3 separate regions of the Homo sapiens genome follow, and regions 1 and 3 are each linked to region 2. The links are contacts of gene promoters, found by promoter capture Hi-C in blood cells and fetal thymus (Javierre and others, 2016). All regions are on one chromosome and are shown on one strand. Each heading gives the region's core, a stretch centred on a gene start or on the middle of the fragment in contact. The rest is flanking DNA. Distances are from core to core; before and after follow the strand shown. Region 1 overlaps SHISAL2A (shisa like 2A). Region 2 holds the start of ZFYVE9 (zinc finger FYVE-type containing 9). Region 3 overlaps COA7 (cytochrome c oxidase assembly factor 7).

Evidence for each region. The method cuts DNA at HindIII sites, captures the fragments that hold promoters and counts their contacts. A CHiCAGO score of 5 or more calls a contact.
Region 1: a fragment that was not itself captured here is called in contact with the fragment with the promoter of ZFYVE9 in region 2 in 1 of 17 cell types (M2 macrophages); the score reaches 8.2 in M2 macrophages.
Region 3: a fragment that was not itself captured here is called in contact with the fragment with the promoter of ZFYVE9 in region 2 in 1 of 17 cell types (fetal thymus); the score reaches 5.1 in fetal thymus.

Annotation. Positions count from the first base shown.
Region 1 is chr1:52,655,301-52,660,085 of GRCh38, forward strand. It overlaps SHISAL2A (shisa like 2A), which reads left to right. Exons shown (of 3, transcript NM_001042693.3): 3 at 1,490-1,765. The coding sequence ends at 1,740. Among named protein-coding and RNA genes, the nearest start is that of SHISAL2A, 25 kb to the left of the region's middle. The HindIII fragment of the contact is 3,818 bases long and covers 1,046-4,785 here.
Region 2 is chr1:52,140,514-52,145,423 of GRCh38, forward strand. ZFYVE9 (zinc finger FYVE-type containing 9) reads left to right here and starts at 1,576. Exons shown (of 19, transcript NM_004799.4): 1 at 1,576-1,890. It overlaps LOC107984956 (collagen alpha-2(I) chain-like), which reads left to right. Exons shown (of 5, transcript XM_047439476.1): 2 at 680-776; 3 at 922-968; 4 at 1,264-1,890. RefSeq lists a silencer at 1,376-2,235. The HindIII fragment of the contact is 13,456 bases long and covers 1-2,265 here.
Region 3 is chr1:52,679,998-52,684,609 of GRCh38, forward strand. COA7 (cytochrome c oxidase assembly factor 7) reads right to left here. Exons shown (of 3, transcript NM_023077.3): 3 at 4,452-4,612. Among named protein-coding and RNA genes, the nearest start is that of COA7, 16 kb to the right of the region's middle. The HindIII fragment of the contact is 5,380 bases long and covers 1-4,156 here.

The sequences.
Region 1 (4,785 bases), core at 1,705-4,204, 520 kb after region 2:
AAAGACAAACAGAGAACAATCTATGTTTTAAAATGTCCAGGCATGGTGGCTCAGGCCTGTAACCCCAGCAACTTGGGAAGCCAAGGCAGGAGGATAACTTGAGCCCAGGACTTCAGGATAGCCTGGGAAATATAATGAGACCCTGTATCTACAAAAAAAAAAAAAAAAAAAAAAAAAAAGGTGGATGTGGTGGTGCACACCTATAGACCTAGCTACTCAGGAGGCTGAGGTGGGAAGATCACCTGAGCCCAGGAGGTCAAGGCTGTAGTGCGCCATGTTCAAGCCACTGCACTCCAGTCTTGGCAACAGTGCAAGACCCTATCTCAAAATAAAATAATGTTTTTGAAAAAGGATATATAGGTGGCAAATAGGCACATGAAAATATGTTCAACTTCATTAGTCATTAAGGAAATGCAGATTAAAGCCACAATGAGATGCCATCTCAAGGAGCACAGGTAATGGAAAGAGATTGAAAGCTTTCAGAAAGAATAGTACATAGACTCACTTGATCTTAGAAAGATCTTAGATCTCTCTGGCTACAGCATGGAGGACGTGATGGAGGGGCCCCCACTGGAGGCCGTTCCAGGGGTCTGGGCAGAAGAAGATGAAAGCCTGATCTAAGGTGGTAGCCTTGAGGATGGAGAGAAATGGGTGGATACCACAGATGACTATTAGGTGGAACCAGCAGGACCTGGCTTTGTGAAAGGGCCGAGGTAGAAGGTGTGAGAGATGACTCGAATTTTTGGCTTAAACACTTGATACATTTTTTTATCTAGAAAGACAGAAATGTTCAATTGTGTCAAATGCTCCTGATTAAAAAAAGAAAAAGGAAAAAAGAATCAGAGTCCTATAACTGGTAAAGTAAAATTTAAAATAAATAAATAATGTTAAATGTTCCTGATAAGGGAGATAAGGATTTAGAAGTGACTATGGGTTTAGTGACAAATAGTTTGAAGGTATAGTGGGGGCAGAACAAAGTAAGTTGCAGCTGAACAAGTCATGAATGGAAGGTAGAGAATAATAAGGCCAAGTGGACTTCCTTTCAAGCTTTGATTTAAGAGGAAGAGAGAAGATAAGTCACTCAGCAAAGAGAAGCATGGAATCTATTCTCAAAGCGAGAACAATCTATGTTTTAAAAATGTCCACCACTCTTCTCCATACTAGCTGTATGGTAATCCTGTGTTCTCATCTATAAAATGGATTTCTAATAGTACCTACCTCATAGGGTTATGGTGAAGGTCAAGTCTTCATAGCTCTTAACAATTGTTTCTTATCTGTTTCCTCCACCAAACTACAAGTTCATGAGCAACACTGACAGCTCTCAGTGCATAATGTGGTGTATTGTTAATAAATACATGTTAAACAAATGATGCTTCTAAGGCTCTGACCACAGTGCACTGCCCAAGGTAAGCACCAGAGAAGTCAGCTGGGGAGTGTGATCCTGTTGGGGAAGAAGAGAGCCACACACCCTCAGTTTGCTGTTTTCCAGGCCCTGAGGAGGTTTCTCCTGACTGCCAAGGTGTGAACACAGGCATGGCGGCAGAAGTGCCAAAAGTGAGCCCTCTCCAGCAGAGTTACTCCTGCTTGAACCCGCAGCTGGAGAGCAATGAGGGGCAGGCTGTGAACTCCAAACGCCTCCTCCATCATTGCTTCATGGCCACAGTGACCACCAGTGACATTCCAGGCAGCCCTGAGGAAGCCTCTGTACCCAACCCTGACCTATGTGGACCAGTCCCATAAACATTCAATAAATGTCTCCATACCATCCCCTTCTGGAGTCTCTTCAGTGAAAGGTGGGAGTGGGAAAGGACTTTAGAGCCTAGCATGATAAATGAGGGCTTCTCCCAGCAAAGATACCCAGCCCTGCTGTGGACCCTGCCATACTGTTCTGCTTGGCCTATTGTGGGCCAAAGAACTTTGACATGACTCCTAGGAAAAATGGTCAGTAACAACTCCATGCAATCGGGTGGAAGCCTGGGGCCTGTGAAGGCACAGAGGAGCCCCTCACCCAACTGGGAAGTCAGAGAACTCTGACATGGTTTTCCTGCCCCACAGTAGGTGTATTTAGGAGCCCCTGAGAAGATGATTAGCCCTCAGAGGGGGATGATCTCTGCCTCTTCAGCAGCTCTGCCTCACCCTGGAGTGCGCCATCCTGGAGTAAGCCCCTTGCAGAGGGACGGATAGAGAGGGAGTATGTTGTGCACAGGGCTCAGGCGTCATTCTATTTCTTAGGTAGATGAAGGAGTGAGTGCTAAGTGAGAGAATGAATAGGGGCAGGGCGCGGCAGTTCACGCCTGTAGTCCTAGAGCTTTGGGAGGACAAGGTGGATGGATCACTTGAGCCCACTTATTCAAGACCAGCTTGGGCAACACAGTGAGACCCAGACTCTACAAAAAATTTAAAAATTAGCCACATGTGGTGGCTTATACCTGTAGTTGCAGCTACTTGGGAGGCTGAAGCAGGAGAATCAGTTGAGCCCTGGAGGTCGAGGCTGCAGTGAGCTATGATCACACCACTGCACTCCAGCCTGGGCAAGACCTCATCACAAAAAAAGAAGAAGAATGAATGAATGAATGAATGGTTATCAGACTGAATACAGGCTCCAGAGGGTGGACTCTGCCACTGTGTGGCCTTGATAAAGTCCCTTGTCTTCCTGAGCCTCAGTCCCCTTGCTGGGTTATTGCAAGTGTTCAATGAGGTGATGGATTTGAACTCACTTCGTAAACATTAAATTACTAGAAGACTTTTTTTTTTTTTGAGACGGAGTTTTGCTCTGTCACTTAGGCTAGAGTGCAATGGCATGATCTCAGCTCAGTGCAACCTCCGCCTTCCGGGTTCAAGTGATCCTCCCACCTCAGCCTCCCAAGTAATTGGGACTACAGGTGTGTGCCACCATGCCTGGCTAATTTTTGTATTTTTAGTGGAGACGGGGTTTCACCATGTTGGCCAGGCTGGTCTTGAACTCCTGACCTCAAGTGATCCGCCTGCCTTGGCCTCCCAAAGTGCTGGGATTACAGATGTGAGCCACCACACCTGGCCTGTTAAAAGACTTTTTAAATGACCAATGGATGATAACATAGTATTCCTGCTAAAAGACTTTTTAAATTACAAATGGACAATAACAGTAAACTATGTAATACTGAACAACTCTGGAGCCAAATGCCTGGTTAAAATCCTGCCCCTGTCACTTACTTGCTAGGTAACCTCTGTGCCTCAGTCCTCTCATCTATATAAGCTGGAATCTTAGTAGTATCTTCTAATAGGGCTTGGGGAAGGACTAAATTACTAAGTCCATGCAAGTACATAGAAAAGTGTTGGCAAATGGAAAGCACTATGTGTTAGCTATTATTATTATTTTTAACATGTCTTATTATTAATCTGATCGCAAAGGAATCTTAGGGCAAGATGCTGACTGTCAGCCCTCCCTCCTGGCTGCTCTCCTAACTTTGGCGATGGCTTTTAGGCTTCGCCTTCGGAATGCAAGACAAGGACTGTGGAGACGCAGCTCAGCAGCCACCAAAAGCAGCTCTTGACATTTCAGACAGTGACATGACCTGCTGCTGGATTTGGCAACAGTGAAAGAGTCACTCTTAGATACCTGTGCCTGAGGCCAGCCAAAGGGTACATGATGGGGTGGCAAGACAGGGTGAGTCACCCACAGAAGTGTTCTAGGCTGGAAGTCAAGAGATTTTGGTTCTGGTCTTGCTTCATTTGTTGTTGTTGGTGGTGGTGGTGGTGGTGGTGTGTGTGTGTGTGTGTGTGCTCTTTTATTTCAGCATTTTTTTTTTGAGACAGTCTCATTCTGTCACCAGGCTGGAGTGCAGTGGAGATCATAGCTCACTGCAACCTCAAACTCCTGACACAAGCAATCCTTCTGCCTCAGCCTCCCAAGCAACTGTGACTACAGGTGCGTGCCACTGTGTCCAGCTAATTTTTAAATTTTTTTTTTATCGAGACGGGTGGTTGCTATGTTGCCTAGGCTAGCCTTGAACGTGTTGGGATTACAGGTGTGAGCCACTGCACCCAGCCTATTTTCAGCACTTAAAACCCAGCACCCTTGTCCATTTACTGCACACTTAGTGGTATCCATTCTATTCTAGGACCTGTGCAGGTTGCCACAAACAAGAGGAATCAGACAGTTCTCACCCTCAAGGGGCTCACATGGAGGACAAGGCAGGCACACAAATGGCCAGGAGGCCCAGTGGTGGCCCTTCATGGGGCTTTAGGGAGGAAGAAATGATGTCTGAGCTGAATCATCAAAGATGACTCAAAGTTTCCAGGTGAGACAGGAACAGAAAACATTATGGTCAGAATACAGCTTGTTCACAATAGTGAGAGCGAGCCAGTGTGGCCCAGGACCTGCAAGTTATTTGTTATAGAAAGAGCTTAGGGTACTTGTATATATGTGGTGGGGCTGGGTGATATTGGGATGTTTAGTCCCTGACGCTCTGTGCGACCCTTCACAGGACGAATTCCTTCTCTGTCCTTGGTATCCTCATCAGAAAAATCCAACTTTTCTCTGAACACTTTCAAGGGAGACTGGGAGGTTTCAGGAAAGAATCTGATAATGCCCTTGCCTTTAGGCTGCTAGCAGTCAGAAGGGGGAGATGCTGTGTGCATTCCAAACGCTAAAGTGGTCATCCGCGGCCTAAGGCAGTGGTTCTCAAACTCGAGGCTGCATCAGAATCAGCTGTGTGGAGGGCTTGTTAAAACACAGAATGCTGGCCTCCTACCCCAGTGTCTGACTCAGTAGGTCAGGAGTAAGTCCCCAGAATTTGCATTTCT
Region 2 (4,910 bases), core at 326-2,825:
GAGACCTTTTGTAGTTTCTATTATTTATCATCATTAGGCCATAACCTAAGGTAAGGTGAGATTGCCTTATAACATTTTTTATACATAAAAAATACTGGTTGCATGCTGCTATCTGCTGTGCAACAGAATGTCATAGGATCCAGTGTATGAGGCTCTATTCTTCCATGGAGGGGTGTTACATAAACCCATTAGTGAAATTTAGGGAAATTTCACCCAGACTAGGGAGGATGAAGAATGGAGCATCTATCTTTTGACAGAAATACAGTTACACACACACATACACACACACATACACACACACAGAGAGAGAGAGAGAGAGAGAGAGAATGAGAAACAAAAACAGAGGAGTACAAAATTGAGCCTAAGAAAAAGAACTGGAACCAATAAAAATTGTAACTAACATTTATTAAGTATCTTCTATGGGCCAGTCTCTTTATCTCCAATCTTCAACAACCAGCAAGGCAGGCAGGAGAAAACTGAAGTTCAAAAATGTTACATAACTTCCCCAGGGTCATAAAGCTATATATACATGACAGAACTGGAACTGGTAGTGTTGGTATGTGTCTGACACCAAAATCACTACACATTCTAGTATACCACTCTGTTAAAAAAGTGTATTTGGAAAATTTAGGGATCAGAGGATTTGGAGAATTTTCTTTCCCTACTTCCCCTCTGACAGTCGTGTTTGTTTTTGGTTCTGATGTTTGCACCCTAGAGGCTGACTGGGATCAAATATGGGGCATCTGTAAACAGAATGATTCCATAGCCCCCACTGTGTAATAATTTCCTTCCTTCAGAGCCTTACTAGGATTTGCCTGGGATGAGGGGTGGAAAGGTGGGAGAGAAGAGGTTGGGAGGGAGAGGATGTTAGTAAAAGATGGGTGATTCTTTGCTTACCTTTAAGTTGTTTATGAATTTCAGGACAACCCGTTGGCTATTCTCTTCTCTGGCTTGGCATATATATATATGTATGTATTTTTTTTTCATTTTTGTTTTGTGGGGGTGGTGGTTTAGGTGTTAAGGGTTTGGTTGATATCTGTAGAAAATTTCTTAATGATCTACACAGTAGATAAAAAAACAAGTTAAGGTCAAAGACAATTCCTTCGTCTGTTTTGGGAGACGAGTGTGTATGTTTGAAAAAAAGGTTTGTTCTGGGTCACTCTTCTTTCATCCAGACGCATTAAAGGAATTAGAAGGGGGTCTCCCTGCCACCCCCGAAACCGTGAGAGTCAAACGGAGATTCCCTTATATTCCTGCTCTCAGGTGCGGGTCCGAGTGACAAGAACGTTCACGTATCTTCGGGAGAGAACGAAAAGGTGCTCGGGTCTGGCGGGGGCGGGGAACGCCAGGGGTTGGTGGGAACTGAGGGGCTTCCGGTTCCCGGGAAGCGGAGTCCCGGGCCGGCCGCGGGCCGCGGGCTACGCAGGGAGCACGGGGCCCTCGCCGCCCCCAGGCCGCGCTCCTTAGCGTTCCCTGCGGCTCGTGCCCAGCGCGGCCGCCGCAGTCCCGACGCCGTAGCCGGACGTGGGGTCCAGGGGGCGCTGTGGCCCAGCGGCGCCGGCGGCAGGAGCGGCCACCCGACGCTGGAGGCTTCGCTGAGGATCCCCGCCTGCCGCACCTCGGTCGTCCCGCCGCAGCCTTGCGCCCCCGGCCCGGCTCGGCGGCGCTCCTCCGGGATCCGCGTGGCTGCCGCGGCCCGGGCGCCGATGCGGCTGGGCGGGTGCCGGGCCTTAGCAGCAGTAGCAGCCGCAGCTGCGGCTACCGCAGCTCCTACAGGAGTGGGAGGTTTCGCGGCGGCGCCTGGGGCCGCGCCGGTGCCCTCCGGAGGAGGCTTTCGGCTCAGGGACGACCCCCGTGGCCATGCTGAAGCGGAGGCGGCCGCTGCTCGAGGTGAGTGTGGCGCGGCGTGGTCCGGGGCTCGCCGGCCTCCCGCCGCCTGTGGGGGCCCTGGCGGCAGACCGCGGGCCGGGCGGACGGGGCGTCCTGCCACTGCGGTCGCCTCCCCCACCCTGCGGTCCTGGGGCCTCAGCCCTTTCTCCCCGCGTCCCCCGGGAGGCTGAAGGCCGTGGGGGGCGATTAGGCCCCGCGCCGTTGGGAAGCCCTCGCTCCGGCCTCGGTTCCGGCGCGGCCGGGTGTGTGGAGCTGGGGGCCGGCAGGAGCACGGCCGCCTTTCGGGTTTGCATGGGCCCGGGCCGAGCGCAGCCTCTTAGCCCGGGCCCTGCACGTACATCCCGGAGGGAGGCAGATGACGCCTGTTTGCAAACAAGCTTTGGCTTCCACGCGTCCCATACCGAGTCCCTCAGAATCCCGGTTGTGGCGGGGAAAGGGGGAGGAGAGGAAGGCCAGGGTGAGAATTGGGGGTGCAGAGAGTGCGGGACCAAGAGAGCCCCTGCTACTCCTGGAGTGTCATTCATGGATCTGGCTTGCTCGAGAACAACCTTTTGCGTCTTATTTGAGGTGAAATTTCATCACCTGCCGGTTGCTCATTCCTGCCTCTTTATATTATATCTTGCCTCTAAGCGTGGTCTGCCTTGGAGAAAGCCCCATCGCATCTTTGCGATGCTAAGTTTTGTAGATAAACACTCACAGTTATAAAAACGTCTTTTACAAAGGTCTGCCCCCCACACCCCGCCAGAAGAAATATTTTTATGCTTCAGTGTTCGGTACAAAAATGTTCCACTTAAAGAGATCCAGAGAATAGTTGGCAAAAGGATTTTAAGTCCTCTTTAAGTGCCAGCTACCCTAATAAATACCTGAAGGAAATGGGATACATGCTAAATTTTAGAAATAAAATGATTTGTTCTGATATTAATGTTGAAAATGCTACTGATTACAGTTTGATACCGTAAGTCAGATATTTATGTTTTGTGAGAAATGTGATTACAGGTTATTCTTGTTTTCCTGTTATGTATGTGAAAGTTATAAGACTTATAGGTACTTGCAAAACTTTTATAATCATGAAAAAATATGCTTATTGTAGAAAACTTGGGAATTATAGAAAGGTACCATGTTGGCTCTTAATAAATATTTAATAATAGGAGAAATCACCCATAATCTCACAGATTGTAAACAGTACAGGTTTATAATGGGCTCGTACTGACAGTGATTTTTAAAATTATTATTTCTGTATATTAGGTTTAAAATTATCTGACTGTTCCATTTTACATTGTCATTTGTATAAGACCTGTAAAAATATTTTACTAAATTACATTGGAACCATGTTGAATTCATCAATTAAAACAGAAGAATATGGGTAACTACCTAAAAGATCCCTGACTTAACCTTCTATGCAGCATGGGGTCTCCATCTAGGGAGAAAGTTTGGCATGGTACACGTTTTTGAAGACCTACTGTGTTAGATGCTGTAGCCTTGCATTGTTTTTGTCAGATTTTAAGTATTTCTTTTAAAAATTGGCTTCATTACCAGTTATTTGGGTAGGTTAATCTCGATTTTTAAAAGTCTAATTCAGGCAAAGTGTGATGGCTAGGCCTACTAGGGAGGCTGAATGGGGAGGACCCCTTGATCCTAGGAGTTCCAGTCCTGCTTGGGCAACGTAAGCAAGATGCCCCTCTCCGAGGCGGGTGGATCATGAGGTCAGAAGTTCAAGACCAGCCTGGTCAATATGGTGAAACCCCGTCTCTACTAAAAATACAAAAATTAGCTGGCATGGTGGTGCCCACCTGTAGCCCCAGCTACTCGGGAGGCTGAGGCACAAGAATCATTTGAACCTGGGAGGCAGACGTTGCAGTGAGCCAAGATTGGGCCACTGACTCTAGCCTGGGCAACAGAGCGAGACTCCATCTCAAAAAAAAAAAGTTGAATACAGTTCTCAGTGTGTCCCTCAAGACCACCAACATTAGAATCAGTTGAGAGTGCTTGTTATATATATAAGTATTATATGTAATATGCAGATTCTTGGTCCCTTGAATTGAAATTCTAGGGATGACGATGGCCCAAAGAACTTTATTTTTATCAGTCTCCCTGATTCTTAGACCTACTAAAGTTTGAGAATCACTGATACAGTAAGTTTAAAATTAACTAACCTTGCTGAGCCGAAGGAAGGTGTCTATTTTCTAGCAAAACTATAAGTCTTTAGTGGCAATAGTCATTTCTTTCTTTTTTTTTTTTTTTTACTTCCTTGCAGCTCCAGCTCAAAGGATGTCATTTTTCGTAGTAAATAATCTTAGAAAGAAAAGTGATATTTTGAGGGACAGCTGATCCAATCAGCAACCATTTATTGAGAGCCTCCTGTGATAGCTGTGGTGTGCTAAAAGAATACCTTGTCATTTACTTTGGCACTTAATGGACACCAATGTCATTGTCTGTAAAATGCATATACTTCAGTTATTATGCTTACCTTGCGAGGCTTTTAGGATAAATAAATCTGAAAAGGTATTATAATCTGTAAAAGATTTTTATACAATTTTGGCTTTTAAGTGCCAGGTCCTGTTATAGGTATTCCAGGAAACACAAAAATGACCAAGGGCTCTACTAAACTTGTCCTGTGGAAGCAGGATACCTTTAATTAACTGTTACAAGGTAGGTCAGACAAGTGTTGAAATTGAGTGGAACGTGCTAAATCTCTGTTTAAGGCTTCTGTGTCTCATCTTGCCGTTTAAGGACATTGATAATACTTTTTATGTATGATTATTCCTTTCTCTTCCAATTCCTGATTCAGTGTTTTCTTTAAGGAAATAATTGCTTATATTGCCTGGTGATAGTTTCCTATTAACTCTTTTAGAAAGGTAGAGTGAGTAGAGATGATAATTCCTTCCTCTGTTGCTAAGCTACCACTGTTCATTCCATTCAGTAAACTTTTATGTGGCACCTTGTAAACGTGCTAGCCACAGACTGGTTGCAAGGCACAAAGCTTGTTTAAAAGATAATTGCCTGGATTTTAGCTTAAGTTC
Region 3 (4,612 bases), core at 217-2,716, 540 kb after region 2:
ACAAAAAATTAGCCAGGCATGGTAGCGGGAGCCTGTAGTCCCAGCTACTCGGGAGGCTGAGGCAGGAGAATGGGAGGCGGAGCTTGCAGCTTGCAGTGAGCCAAGATCGAGCCACTGCACTCCAGCCTGGGTGACAGAGCGAGACTCTGTCTCAAAAAAAAAAAAAAAAAGGAATATAACATTACTATTTTTAAATGTATATATTTCTCATTCTTTGTTAGGTGTCCTAAATATACATGCGTATTCTGCCTTTGACTAATCCAGAATTGTCCACATCTGTAGGATCTGAAGTCTAGGCATTTTCCCTCTGCCACGCTGCCCTTCATACAATTTTTCAAGCAACTTCATAAAACAAATAAAAATGCTATTTATTTATAAAACTTAAAAAATCACCCAACAGTTCAGAGTTCTTGTCCCCATCCCCACACCACAGGCTCCAAATCAATATGAATAGCTCCACTGTCCACCTAGATGCCCAAGCTAAACCTGTTTTGGTTTATATTTTTCAACCTCATGCTCAACCCCACCTTCTTCCCACCCCCGCATGGCTCAATTTTGCTTATTCAGCTGTCTGGCCTCTCACCTGTGCTCCCTTCCTTGCTTGACAGGCCTTAGCTCAGGCCCCACCATGTCTCACCTTGACATCTGCAGCCATCTCCTCATTGGTCTTCCTGCCTCCAGTCTTTCCCCCGTGATTCATTTTCTGCACTGGGGATGATCTTTCTAATTTCCAAACCTGATCAAAACCCTTTCGTGACTCTGCATTACCCACAAGATAAAAGCCAAATCTCTATACCCTCAGGTTTTCCCTTCCCTCTCTGGGACTCTTCCTTTCCTTCCTCACAGTACTGAGCACCATACTGTCAGATTTTAGTGAGAGCATTGGCCGGGCAGAGCGGTTCACGCCTGTAATCCCAGCACTTTGGGAGGGAGAGGCAGGCAGATCATCTGAGGTTGGAAGTTCAAGACCAGCCTGGCCAACATAGTGAAATGGTGAAACCCATCTCTACTAAAAAATACAAAAATTAGCTGGGCGTGGTGGCCTGTAATCCCAGCTACTCAGGAGCCTGAGGCAGGAGAATCTCTCAAACCCGGGAGGCAGAGGTTGCAGTGAGCCAAGATCGCACCACTGCACTCCAGCCTGGGCAACAGAGTGAGACTGTGTCTCAAAAAAAAAAAAAAAGATTTTAGTGAGAACACAAACCGCCAGAGTCAATTATGAACCGTCTTTCCCATTAGACAGACCATCAGGCCAGCTCTGAATGTCCTGTATCCAGCCCAAGCCTAGCATGGAGGAAAAACGTAGGAAATAGTTGTTAATGATGATCCAATGCCTGCTGGCTAGAAGACACAGTAATGATACTGCTTGCTGTGACCAGAGTCTGAAAAGCGATTTTCAAACCTTGCCTCAAAGGCTGCATTAAAGTGAGAAACTTATCCATGCTGGCTCTTACCAACCTACTGCTTCCCACAGTAGCCTGGGTATGAAATGGCCTTGGACCATTCTGAACAGTAAATTATTATTCTTTGCATTTTAATAACTTTAGGGAAATATAACATTTTGACACAGTTAATGCTCACTCTATTGTTCCCTGCCCCACTAAGTATGTGACTCAGGAAGGCAAGTACCAGAAGTCCCAGGTAGGAACTCGTCCATAAAAAAAAAAAAAAAGGCTGGGTGTAGTGGCTCACGCCTGTAATCCCAGCACTTTGGGAGGCCGAGACAGGTGGATCATCTGAGGTCGGGAGTTCGAGACCAGCCTGGCCAACATGGAGAAACCCTGTCTCTACTAAAAATACAAAATTAGCCGGGTGTGGTAGCACATGCCTGTAATCCCAGCTACTCAGGAGGCTGAGGCAGGAGAATTGCTTGCACCCGGGAGGCGGAGGTTGCGGTGAGCTGAGATCATGCCATTGCACTCCAGCCTGGGCAACAAGAGTGAAGTTCCATCTCAAAAAAAAAATCCAGTACATCTGCCACCCAAAAATCAAACTTAGTTCTTCAAAATTACAAAACCCAGTGGGGCAAGTGGCTCATGTCTGTAATCCTAGCATGTTGGGAGGCTGAGGCAGGAGGATCGCTTGAGCCCAGGAGTTTGAGACCAGCCTGGGCAACACAGCGAGACCCCATATCTACAAAAAACATGAAAACTAACTGGGCATGGTGTCACGCACATGTAGTCCCTAGCTACTTGGGAGACTGAGGTAGGAGGATCACCTGAGCCCAGGAGGTTGAGGCTGCAGTGAGCTATGATTGCACCACTGCACTCCAGCCTAGGTGACACAGAGAGACCCTATCTCAAAAAGAAAAAAAAAAATTACAAAACCTGTTAGTTGAAAAGATATGATTCTTGGCAGGGCACAGTGGCTCATGCCTGTAATCCTAGCACTTTGGGAGGCCAAGGTGGGTGGATCAGCTGAGGTCAGGAGTTAGAGACCAGCCTGATCAACATGGTGAAACCCCATTTCTACTAAAAATACAAAAAATAGCCGGCTGTGGTGGCGCTCGCCTGTAGTCCCAGCTACTCAAGAGGCTGAGGCTGGGGAATCACTTGAACCTGGGAGGTGGAGGTTGCAGTGAGCTGAGATCACGTCACTGCACTCCAGCCTGGGTGACACCATCTCAAAAAAAAAAAAAAAAAAAAAAAGATATGATTCTTTAAAAAAATGGTTAAATAGTGAGAACGCTATTGTGCCAAAGAATGCCCATAGGTGATAAAAGAATAGTGAGGGGTGATGGTTTCTTCTGTTTCAAATTGCATTTTATGAGAACATACTAATTTTATAATAAAAAAACTTCAAACCTTGCATTTTTAAAAAGTCAATATGTTTTTTTTTTAAATTGTGGTAAAACATAAAATTTACCATGTTAACCTCTTTTTTTTTTTTTTTTTTTTTTTTTTTTGAGATGGAGTCTCACTCTGTTGCCTAGGCTGGAGTGAAGTGGTGCAATCTCAGCTCACTGCAACCTCCACCTCCCAGGTTCAAGTGATTCTCGTGCCTCAGCCTCCTGAGTCGTTGGGACTACAGGCGCATGCCACCACGCCCAGCTAATTTTTGTATCTTTAGTAGAGAGAGGGTTTCACCATGTAAGCCAGGCTGGGTTAACCATTTTTAAACATATAGTTCAGTAGTGTTAAGTATATTCACATTTGATGTGTAACAATCTCCATTATTTTTTCATCTTACAAATTTGAAACTCTTTACCTATTAAACAACCCATTTTGGCCAGGCATGGTGGCTCACACCTATAATCCCAGAACTTTGGGAGGCCGAGGCGGAAAGATCACTTGAGCTCAGGAGTTTAAGACCAGCCTGGGCAATATGGCAAAACCTCGTCTCTACAAAAAATACAAAAACTAGCTGGGCGTGGTGGTGTGTACCTGTAGTCCCAGCTACTTGGGAAGCTGAGGTGGAAGGATGACCTGAGCCCAGGAGTTAGAGGCTGCAGTGAGCTATGATAGTGCCACTGCACTCCAGCCTAGGCGACAGAGCAAGAGCCTATCTCAAAACAAAAACAAAAACAAAAAACTCATTTCCTCCTCACCCCAGCCCCTGGCAGCCACCATTTTACTTTCTGTTTCTGAGTTTATATACAACTCATACCCAAGTTTAGATGCCTCATATACAGCATGTCTTTTTGTGACTGGCTTATACAGCATGTCTTTTTGTGACTCTCTTAGCACGATGTCCTCAAGATTCAGCCATGTTTTGTGGCATGTGTCAGAATTTCCTTCCTTTTCAAGGCTGAATAATATTCCATTGCATGTACATCTCGCCTTTTGTGTATTCATTCATCTGCTGATGGGCATTTGGGTTCCTTCTACCCTTTGGTTACTATGAATAGTGCTGCTAAGAATATGGGTATAGATACCTCTTGGAGACCCTGCTTTCAATTCTTTTGGATATTAATAGTTTGGATACTTGTCCCCCAAATCTCACGTTGAAATTTAATCCCCAATGTTGGAGGTGGAGCTTGGTGGGAGGTGATTGGATCATGGGGAGGATTTCTCATGAATGGTTTAGGACCCTCCCCTTGGTGCTGTCCTCAGGAGATTTGTGTGTGGTATCTCCCCTTGCTCACTCTCTTGCTCCTGCTCTTGCCTTCTCACCATGTGATACACTGACTCCCCCTGTGCCTTCCACCATGACTGTAAGCTTCTGAGGCCTCACCAGAAGCCAATAGGATGCACAGCACCATGCTTCCTGAGCCAATTAAACTTTTCTTTATAAATTACCCAGTCTCAGGTATTTCTTTATAGCAATGCAAGAATGGCCTAACACAGATATGTACCCAGAAGTGGAATGGCTGGATCAAACGGCAATTCTGTTTTTCATTTTGGGGGAGCTGCACCAGTTCACAGGGTTCTAATTTCTCTGTATCCTTGACAACACTTACTTTGTTTTGGTGTTTAATAGTAGCCATCCTAATGGGATATGAGGCAATATCATTGTGGTTTTAATAGACTTTATATTTTAGAGCAATTTTAGGTTTACAGCAAAATTGAGAGGGTACAGAGATTTCCCATATAGTTGTTGTCCCCACACATGCATAGTCTCCACCATTTTCAACATCTCCCACCAAAGAGGTACATTTGCAGTAATTGATGAA